3 separate regions of the Homo sapiens genome follow, and all the other regions are linked to region 3. Evidence: promoter capture Hi-C in 16 types of primary human blood cells and fetal thymus (Javierre and others, 2016). All regions are on one chromosome and are shown on one strand. The core of a region is centred on a gene start or on the middle of the fragment in contact, and the rest is flanking DNA. Distances in the headings are between cores, read along the strand shown.

What was found. The method cuts DNA at HindIII sites, captures the fragments that hold promoters and counts their contacts. A CHiCAGO score of 5 or more calls a contact.
Region 1: a fragment that was not itself captured here is called in contact with the fragment with the promoter of SAA4 in region 3 in 1 of 17 cell types (naive B cells); the score reaches 5.1 in naive B cells.
Region 2: a fragment that was not itself captured here is called in contact with the fragment with the promoter of SAA4 in region 3 in 1 of 17 cell types (total B cells); the score reaches 5.3 in total B cells.

Annotation. Positions count from the first base shown.
Region 1 is chr11:18,506,013-18,509,574 of GRCh38, reverse strand. TSG101 (tumor susceptibility 101) reads left to right here. Exons shown (of 10, transcript NM_006292.4): 5 at 1-33; 6 at 2,652-2,718. Among named protein-coding and RNA genes, the nearest start is that of TSG101, 19 kb to the left of the region's middle. The HindIII fragment of the contact is 1,107 bases long and covers 945-2,051 here.
Region 2 is chr11:18,615,742-18,618,983 of GRCh38, reverse strand. It overlaps SPTY2D1 (SPT2 chromatin protein domain containing 1), which reads left to right. Exons shown (of 6, transcript NM_194285.3): 2 at 1,995-2,109; 3 at 2,886-3,242. Among named protein-coding and RNA genes, the nearest start is that of SPTY2D1, 17 kb to the left of the region's middle. RefSeq lists an enhancer at 2,172-3,242. The HindIII fragment of the contact is 225 bases long and covers 1,848-2,072 here.
Region 3 is chr11:18,234,578-18,238,105 of GRCh38, reverse strand. SAA4 (serum amyloid A4, constitutive) reads left to right here and starts at 1,304. Exons shown (of 4, transcript NM_006512.4): 1 at 1,304-1,389; 2 at 2,176-2,270. The coding sequence starts at 2,180. SAA2-SAA4 (SAA2-SAA4 readthrough) reads left to right here. Exons shown (of 6, transcript NM_001199744.2): 4 at 2,176-2,270. The HindIII fragment of the contact is 10,895 bases long and covers 1-3,528 here.

The DNA.
Region 1 (3,562 bases), core at 249-2,748, 270 kb before region 3:
ATCCGCCATACCAGGCAACGGGGCCACCAAATAGTAAGTAGAATTGAGATTTTACTTTAAAACTCATATAAACAAAAGAGAACAGAAACCTTTGTAAAAAAATAAAGAAAAATAATGACTTCTTTGCTTTTTAGTTTATCAAGCTAGTGGATTTTTTGGAAGTATTCTGAGGCCCCACATCTGCATGTACAGATTCCCACCAAAGACTGGCATTTGGGCTTCCATTTGTAGGTAGAAATCTAAGAATGGTTGTGCTGGATTCCAAAATGGAGGAGAAAGTGTAGAATAGAGCTAGAATTTTTAAAATTATGCATGCTGCAGAATAGCCTTATTTGATCAGCTTGGAAGCACATATAACTTGAAAGGTAGTCTGACCTCTCCTTTCTCTTTGCAACTACAAAATCAGTGTTGTAGATAAGGATTAAGGTCAACTGAAGCGTTCACATTCAGCTATTCTGGGTATACACAATTGGACATCTAGCTCTTAGCTTTCTTCTCTTTCGTACAGCCAATTCATGATTTTACCTTGTGTGGAGTGGTGGGAGCATGGAGAGAGTGTTGCTTCTCCCCTAATTGGAATATATTATCTCTGTTATCTCTATTTTCTTGAATAATTCTTACTGATACTTAAAAATCACTCTGAATAATTGTGAGTTGGTTGTACTTATTTTGAATTTACTAAATCTGCATTGATTTCACTGTGTTTTGAGCTGTGACTTTTTTTTTTTTGGTAAATTTTCTTTAAGATTATAATTAACCAAACTTGTTTATCTTACAAGACAAATTATATGTGCTTTCATTTTTCTTCTGCTGAAAATTATACTTTTTCCTTTTTAATCCATTCTTTCCTGAGGAACATCTTGGTTTATAAGCTGAATGGGAATTTAACAGAAAGAATTTTTGAACCCATTTCTCTTTCCTTCCCTACCTTCCCAGAATAAGCTTGATTTTAGGATTACTATTTCTTTTAGTAAAGGTACTGGTAATTCCTTTGGATTAGAAATTTGTTTTTATCTTATTAAATTCTGTTGACTCTAGTGCCCAAGAGTAGAGTATCTTGCTTAAGTTTGAAATACGAAATATTTGGCCGGGTGTGGTAGCTGTAACCCCAGCACTTTGGGAGGCCGAGGTGGGGGTGGATCACCTGATGTCAGAAGTTCAAGACCAGCTTGGCCAACATGATGAAACCCCATCTCTACTAAAAATACAAAATTAGCCAGGTGTGGTGGTGCATGCCTGTAGTCCCAGCTACTCGGGAGGCTGAGGCAGATGTTGCAGTGAGCTGAGATCGCATTACTGCACTCCAGCCTGGGTGACAGAGCAAGACTCTGTATCAAAAAAAAAAAAAAAAAAGATATCAAATATTTCCTAGTCTCATTACCTTTGTTTATTTGCTCAGATAATATAGCGAGTGACCGCTATGACAAAGGTAACCTTTTCAGAAATTCAGGTAGTCTCCTAAGCAACTTTTTTTTTTTTTTGAGACAGAGTCTCGCTCTGTTGCCCAGGCCGGAGTGCAGTGGTATGATCTGGGCTGACTGCAACCTCTGCCTCCCAGGTTCAAGTGATTCTCGAGCCTCAGCCTCCCAAGTCGCTGGGATTACAGGCCCCCACCACCATGCCCAGCTAATTTTTGTATTTTTAGTAGAGTCGGGGTTTCACCATGTTGGCCAGGCTGGTCTCGAACTCCTGACCTCAAGTGATCTGCCTCGGCCTCCCAAAGTGCTGGGATTACAGGCGTGAGCCACCGCGGCCGGCCTGCAACATTTTTTTTTTCCTAAATTTCTTTGAGTTTTAAATTGACATTGGAAGTGCAGTATTCAAGAAAGAGACCATACTATTGTTACTGTTGCAATTCAATTTTGTACTCAGTCACTGTAAGTCATGTTAAACACTCTAGAGCAGATTCTTTACTATTTTTTTTTGTCAGTTAAGCTCAAGATTAACTTCTCTTTTTCTTCCTCTATGTTGATTAGCCTCTTGGCACCACTGATCTTAGTTCTTTGGCATTCACGTTCTCTTTAAAGAATGTATAAAGTATTCTTTAAGCTTGCTGGGTTTTAACCTTTTATCCCTAGTATTTCTAAGCTTTTGTTTTGTTTGTTTCTTTGTTTTGAGATAGGGTCTCACTCTGTCACCTAGACTAGTTTTTAACAGTCTGGATAATGTAAGTTTTGTATAGGACTTCTCATAGTAGTTTGAAGTCTCTTGAAGTCTTTAAACCAACAAAATCAGCTGTGCTAATTGGCCAACATAGTTATAAAAGAAATATCAAAAGATTTATTAGATATAATAAAGAAGTTACTTTCTAAGAAGTTAACCTTGGACCGAAGAAGGCCAGAATTACCTTCCTCTAAATTTGAAATTGAACTTGCTCTTAGGTAATAGACTTCTTGAGAACTTTAAAAGCTGACCAGGTTGACCTGTTTGCCAGTTCTTTTGGTAGGGATTGTCATAAGTATTGTAATTCATGTTTAATGATTTCAGGATTATGAAAGGGAGAGGTATTTGTTTTGTTTTGGTGCTGAGATTTGGATTTTTTAACTGTGAAATTTTGCTGTGTATTGACAGTGTGATGTATATCTTATTCAGTAGCCTACATATTCAGGCCTTGTATATTATTTTTACAATGTGAAAAAAATTGTTTTTAGCTTCCTACATGCCAGGCATGCCAGGTGGAATCTCTCCATACCCATCCGGATACCCTCCCAATCCCAGGTAATGAAAAACGTTCTTTTGAATAATTGTATTACAAATTCTTCTATTAGATCTAGAATCAAAATAATTTGCTAATTAGGGCATTAAAATAAATTTAATTGCAATTTAGTGGAAGATAAAACTTGGTTTATTCCTGGAATTTATTTATTTATTTATTTATTTTTTTTGAGATGGAGTCTTGCTCTGTCACCCAGGCTGGAGTACAGTGGCGCAATCTCGGCTCACTGCAACCTCTACTTCCCCAGTTCAAGTGATTCTCCTGCCTCAGCCTCCCTAGCAGTTGGGACTACAGGCTGTGCCACCATTCCCGGCTAATTTTTGTATTTTTAGTAGAGACAGGATTTCACCATGTTGGCCAGGCTGGTCTCAAACTCCTGACCTTGTGATCTGCCTGCCTCAGACTCCCAAAGCGCTGGGATTACAGGTGTGAGCCACCATGCCCAGCCTATGTATTTTTTTTTTTTTAAAAGAAGAGAGTATTATAAAATATTTTTCCCCTTGGCTGAATTCATTATAACTAGCATTCCATTTAATATTTCAGCTATCTATACTAGATATACAAATTTCTTAAAAGGACTTCAAGATCAAAAACCAATTGAGATCACTGTCATTACTCAACCCATTTCTTTCCTCTTTAAAATAAAAATGCAGCCCAGGAGCTGCTTTTCTGTAGATTGAAAGAAACTCCTTTCAAATTATACACACACACCTTAAAATTCTAGCAATAAGGCCGGGTGTGGTAGCTCACACCTGTAATCTTACCCAGCACTTTCGGAGGCCGATGCAGGCGGATCACCTGAGGTCCTGAGGTCAGGAGTTCGAGACCAGCCTGGCCAACAGAGTG
Region 2 (3,242 bases), core at 711-3,210, 380 kb before region 3:
AAAGGATCTCACTATGGCCTAGCCAAGGTGACTGGGAAAGAAATCTGGATGCTGTCTTGGGACTTCTCTCTATTAGGGATATGTCACTTCTCAGCATTGCTATCATGCAAGATTTTCAGGTTGAATTAGAGCCTGCTTCCTTGGCCAGCTGCTTTGTTGGCAGACTAATTTAGTTGAAACTTCCAGCCTGTTTCAAGATACGTCGTATTTGGCAGCCTTATAGTAAGCACATATCTTTTGGTTTTCCTCCAAGAATTTCATACATATTTGGGAATACTTTTTTGGTTCCTAAGTTGTTCCTAAGTTGTCTCAATTTGTTCTTGGACATGTTTCTTTTTCTGCTAGCCACAGCAACAGGTACGTTAGATGAGAATGCATCTGCCTAACAAAACAAAAAAAGGAGGATACTTTAAAAATCTTATTTCCTGGATTTAATGTGGAATGGTCGTAGAGGTGAATCATCCCTGGTCTGAATTTATTTTAGCTCTATGTTCGTCATATTTCTCTCATAATAGGTACTTATAAAGTGGAAATATTTTTCCTTTTATAGTTCAAATTAACATTACTTGAGTTTAGTAATTTCTTGATGCAGTTATATAAAAACTGAGGTCCAGAGACTTCATCTGTGCCAGGATAATGTAAGCTTTTTTTGGGTGTTATAGGAACCTGTCTAAAAAGGAGGTTGTGAGGCAAATTAACATTTAGTGAACATAAGAGCTACAGTTAAAGGTTGCTGGGAATTGGGCCTTTATTGCATAGATTTTTTGAAATGCTTTTTTGCTGTGGTTTGCCCCAGCCTTTGTGTGTGGTCAAAGTAAAACCTCAGTGTTTCCGTGTTCTAAGCAAAATAAAACATGTAGCTATGAGTCTCTACTAGGAAATCATCTGGAGTAGTCAGGAGAGAAAATAGTTGTGAGGAGTAGTTTTTTCTGTTCGTTTGAAAAGTTGGACTTTGAAATGCTTCTTTCTAAGGCAGGCTATTTTTAAACTCAGAATTTTATACATTTACTTACTTACTTACTTACTTATAGATTGATGGATTGAGACGGAGTTTTGCTCTGTTGTCCAGCCTGGAGTGCAGTGGCGCAATCTCGGCTCACTGCAACCTCTGCCTCCTGGGTTCAAGCCATTCTCCTGCCTCAGCCTCCTAAGCAGCTGGGATTACGGATGTGCGCCACCATGCCCGGCTAATTTTTGTATTTTTAGTAGAGACGGAGTTTCACTATGTTGGCCAGGCTGGTTGCTAACTCCTGACCACAGGTAATCCTCCCACCTCAGCCGCCCAAAGTGTTGGGATTATAGGCGTGAGCCACCGCACCTGGCCTAAATCAGATTTTTTTTTTTTTTTTTTTTTTTTTGAGACGGAGTCTTACTTTGTCGCCCGGGCTACAGTGCAGTGGCACAATCTCGGCTCACTGCAACCTCTGCCTCCCGGGTTCAAGCAATTCTTCTGCCTCAGCCTCCTGAGTAGCTGGGATTACAGGCACCCGCCACTACGCCCAGCTAATTTTTTGTGTTTTTAGTAGGAATGGGGTTTCACCATGTTGGCCAGGCTGATCTCGAACTCCAGATCTCATGATTCGCCCGCCTCCGCCTCCCAAAGTGCTGAGATTACAGGCATGAGACCCTGAGCCCAGCCTAAATCAGAATTTTAAAACACAAATAATCGATTCTTCTAAGTGGTGATTTCATTTAGTTACCCAGTCCAGGTTCTTTTTTGGAAAATAGCCTGAAAACAGTGTTTCTGTGAATTGTTCATTTATGCATTATTTTGGGATGTTACATGGAAACTTTGTACCCCAAAATCACCATACGTAATAAATAGTCTGAAATTTTATAGCTAAGCTTTATTATGGGTTATATGATCTCTCAATTATTCAGAATAGGTTTCACAGTTAACATTTATACCTCTTATTACCTGGCACAGTGCCTTATACCTAATAATGTATTTTAAAAGTTGAATTGCTTCTAACTTTTACTGTTTTTGTTTTTAGAAAAGGTATAGTTTGGCAGTGGGGCCTCCAAAAAAAGACCCAAAAGTTAAAGGTGTCCAATCAGCAGCTGTACAAGCTTTTCTTAAAAGGAAAGAAGAGGAGCTGAGACGAAAAGGTATGTATCTATAGCCTTATTCTCAATTTTAAAGTATTCCATCTTCACCATCTAGCTTGTACTAAACCAGTGGCTGTCTATAAAAACATAACAGGCCAACAGATTTGGGAGGGTGTGTGTGTGTGTGTGTGTGTGTGTGTGTCCAGGTTAACTGACTGTATTCATGGCTTTACATATGTTACCTCGATCATTTGTATAAACGTTTTCTTTTTTTCTCCCCTTGAAGTAACAGCTTTTTGGGGGTTAGTAGCCATGTCTTCTAATTGGCCATAGTAAGTCCCCAGTAAGAACTCCATTCTTTCTTTAATCTTGGTTCTGAAAGTGTTTCTACCCATTTTGTATTTTAATTTTTATTAACAGAATGCTATCTAAAAGGCTAAAATAGAGATAAGTTTTAAAGTCTTTATTTCGAATAGTTCTACTTCATGCAAATACAAAGAAACTGATTCAATATGTTTAAGTATTCATTGAATCATAATTAATAACAACTACTAAGTGGATACTAATGTTCTCTTAACTTGGTAATGTATTTGGTTTGAAGTATTTTGTATATTTAAAGCTGAAAACCAAGTCTCCCACTTGCTTAGTCATATAGAAAAACCCATATGTCTCCCACTCATTATGTAAAGATGACTCAATTGATACTTGTTCACATGACTTCCTCATTTGATTCCTAGATGTCTTCAAACTGTAACCTGAACGTTGTGTTTTCACTTGAGCATACTGCAATCTTGAGATCTCGAAGTAATAACATATTCTTGTTTTGTCCCTTTTAGCCTTAGAGGAGAAAAGGAGAAAAGAGGAACTAGTGAAAAAGCGAATTGAGCTCAAACATGACAAGAAAGCAAGAGCTATGGCCAAGAGGACAAAGGATAATTTCCATGGTTACAATGGGATTCCTATTGAGGAAAAGTCAAAGAAGAGGCAGGCAACAGAAAGCCATACCAGCCAAGGAACCGACCGAGAGTATGAAATGGAAGAAGAGAATGAATTCCTCGAGTACAATCACGCAGAGTCAGAGCAGGAGTATGAGGAAGAGCAAGAACCTCCCAAAGTTGAAAGCAAACCAAAGGTCCCCCTTAAAAGTGCCCCACCACCCATGAACTTCACTGATTTACTCAGGCTGGCTGAGA
Region 3 (3,528 bases), core at 55-2,554:
TTACTCACAATTTCAAAGACCAAAAAGTTTGAGAGTATACTGTGTGAGAGACAATGTGGAACCAAGTTCTTTCACTCATTTCTGGTGGGAGTAGAGATTGATACAGCCCTCATGGAAGGCAATTTGCAACATATAAAAATTTATAAAATCTAGGGCCAGGGACGTTGGCTCATGCCTGTAATCCTAGCACTTTGGGAAGCCGAGGTGGGCAGATCATTTGAGGTAAGTGGGTCGAGACTAGCCTGGCCAACATGGCGAAATCCCGTCTCTCTTAAAAATAGAAAAATTAGCCTGATGTGGTGGCATGTGCCTATAATCCCAGCTACTCAAGAGGCCGAGGCAGGGGAATCTCTTGAACCCCGGAGGTGGAGGTTGCAGTGAGCTGAGATCATGCCACTGCACTCCAGCCTGGGGGACAGAGTGAGACTCTGTCTCAAACAAACAAACAAAAAATTTATAAAATCTGATACTTTTTCACCATGGAGTTTCTTCTGTAGGAATTTATCCTAGAGATATATTTGTACATGTGCAAGAGACATATGTACAAGGTTAATAAATGCACCATTATTTGTAATATCAAAAGGTTAATAACTGTCAAAACAGCCATTAATATTGTATAAATTATGGTCCATCCATGCAATGGAATACTGTGTAGCTGTAAAAAAAAAAAAAAAAAAAGCAACAAGCCCGACATGGAAAGACTTCCAATAAATAGTAAGTTTAAAAGAAAGTGCAGAATAATACATATTTATATGAAAAAAGAGTTTTTATGCCTCAAAGGCCTTCACCCTTGATCTTCTGGTGTTATTCCTGTCCTTGTATTCTCCCAGAATCATTACCTCATCCCATGAATGGTACAGTCAAGTCTTGCTTGTTCTGTGTCCTTACATTCTTTAGAGAGAAGTCACAAGAGACAAGCAAACATCTCTTTTGCTAATAATATTGATCACTTCCTACAGCATAATATCTATGTGCAATTTTTTGGGAAGACCTCCTACTAAACAGTTAAGAATGGAAAGACACAAAGAGAAGAAAGTGGAGAAAGACCTCTGTCTTCCCACACTGGATTTTGCAAATACAACTCTTCTGTGATACAGGAAACTAAAAAGAGGGAAAAGTGGCAATTAAGAAAAACTGCCAGAAAATAAATACCTTGATGACCCAATTTGGAAAACTACTTCTAGATAAGGAAACACTATTACCCAATATGTTAATTTTTAAAATACCCAAAGAATTGAGCAAAAAGGACTTTGGCAAGGCAGGTTGTTGGATTTAAAACCGTTCTCCCATTAATGCCAAAGCCAGCAGAGGTACCAACTATAGCTCCACGGCCAGAAGATACCAGCAGCTCTGCCTTTACTGAAATTTCATCTGGAGAAAGGTCCACAGGTGAGGTTTCTTCCAAGGAGTAATTTCTCTTATTTGACTCTTTTGAGATCCTTTTCTCACATAATTGTCAAATTTCAATTGGAGAGAAACTGTGTTTTCTACCTCATTACGGGGTCAGTGCTGAGGAGAGTAGGAACTCAGGAAATGCTTCTTGATTGACTTTAGTCTGCTGTATTGGGTGACAAATTGACCACAGACCAAATAACACGTTGGAATCCTCTTATTCTTTCTAGAGATCTGGGCTGAGAATTAAGGGTTTATGCTTCTTCTTAAAACCCGTTTCAATCTTTCATGCAGTTATGATTCTCATACAAACAAATGGAAATGGGGAATTAGTCTTTCAAATTCAGTCCTTTGGCTGGCACAGTGGCTCATGCCTGTAATCCTTTGGGAGGTTGAGGTAGGAAGATTGCTTGAGGCCAGGAGTTCGAGACTAGCCTGGGCCGAACATACATACCAAGACCTTGTCTCTACCAAAAAAAAAAAAAAAAAAATTAGCTGAGTGTGATGGTGCACGTTTGTAGTCCTTAATACTCAGGAGGCTGAGGTGGGAGGATCACTTGAGCCCAGAAGGTCGAGGCTGCAGTAAGCCTTAATCATATCATTGCACTTTAGCCTGGGCAATAGGAAAAAAAAAAGAAAGAAAGAAAGGGAGGAAAGAAAGAAAGGAAGGAGAAAGAAAGAAAAGGAAAAAAAGAAAGAAAAAAAGGAAAGAAATTCAGTCCTCAAAACATAGATCTGTGTTTTTTTTTATGATCCTCTGCCCCTGTCTTTCTTTCTCTTCAGCACAATGAGGCTTTTCACAGGCATTGTTTTCTGCTCCTTGGTCATGGGAGTCACCAGTGAAAGCTGGCGTTCGTTTTTCAAGGAGGCTCTCCAAGGTAAGAACTCTGGAGGATGGAGGGCACATACCCAGGATTCATTCTGAGCAGGGGCCACATACTCACTGGATGTGAGTGCTCCTTAGAGAAGCCACACAGAGGTCAGAGCAGGAGTGTGGTTTTCTGTATCTGTTTCTTCCTCTAGGCTGGTCTGATTTATCACCCTCCCTTGGGGTTTCCAGACGAGAGGTTAAAGATGCTTTGGGCCCAGCCTGTACTCTTGGTGTAGAGTGCAGAAGGATAAAAACTTCCAGGGGGTTATCTCCCACTGCGGAAATTTACAGATGGCAGATTTCTCAGGGCATGATGTTTATTTAGCTCATCCACCTCAGGGAATATACTGAGTTCACAATTATACTCCAAGACTGAGACATGCCTAGCAGAGAGTAGAGAAATCCCATCCTGTACCCAAGCAAATGGCCAATGCTTGGGATGCAGAGCTTATGAAAATTAAGCCCTAACTTCTATCCATAAATAAAAAGAGCAAATTTCTACTGATTAGCCACAGGAGGGCTGAGATACGGCTGGGAAACTGACTTCTGCCATTCTGGATGGGAAACGAATCTTATTGACTAGCTGTTAAAATGGGAAAACTATGTTTGTCAGGTTATGCAATACTTTGAACTTCATGTGTTGTTATTAATTTTGTAGTTGAATTTTTTGTAATTTTTCAATTGAAATTTTATAAATTTTCATTTTTTCTGCATTTTGTGCTTTTAAAAATGATATTCTATAAATAGTTTTTAAAAAGTTTTGGTAGCATGTACTAAGTTTTTCTGCACATAGTAGAGAATATCTTTTCCCTTAGGTCAGTGTATTTCAGAATTTGTTGTATGGTCCACCAGCATTTAAATCGGCCGGTGTTTGTTTTAAAAGTACACTCTGAAGCCTCTTCTCATAGTTACTGAGTCAGAATCTTAGAAGTGAAGTGGGACTAGGAATAGCATTTGAAAAACTCCCCAGGTTACTTTAAGCACAATGCCAATGAGAACAACTGTCTTGGGTTTTTCTGTCACCCAGTGACAGAATCTGTCAGATGCTTGGAGAAAACTCTTGCTAGTAGATCTGGAAAACATAGAATGAACATAAAGCATGCATCAGAGAAAGGACAGTCATGCCATGCCAGAGATAAACTATTTGACAAAATTACAGACACAAAATAATACATGAAGTTAGTGAGAAATATCCCTTAGAACACAGTACCTAAGTAACAATTAAAACTATTTATCACAGCTTTTCTTTTTTCCAAGTGAGTTGG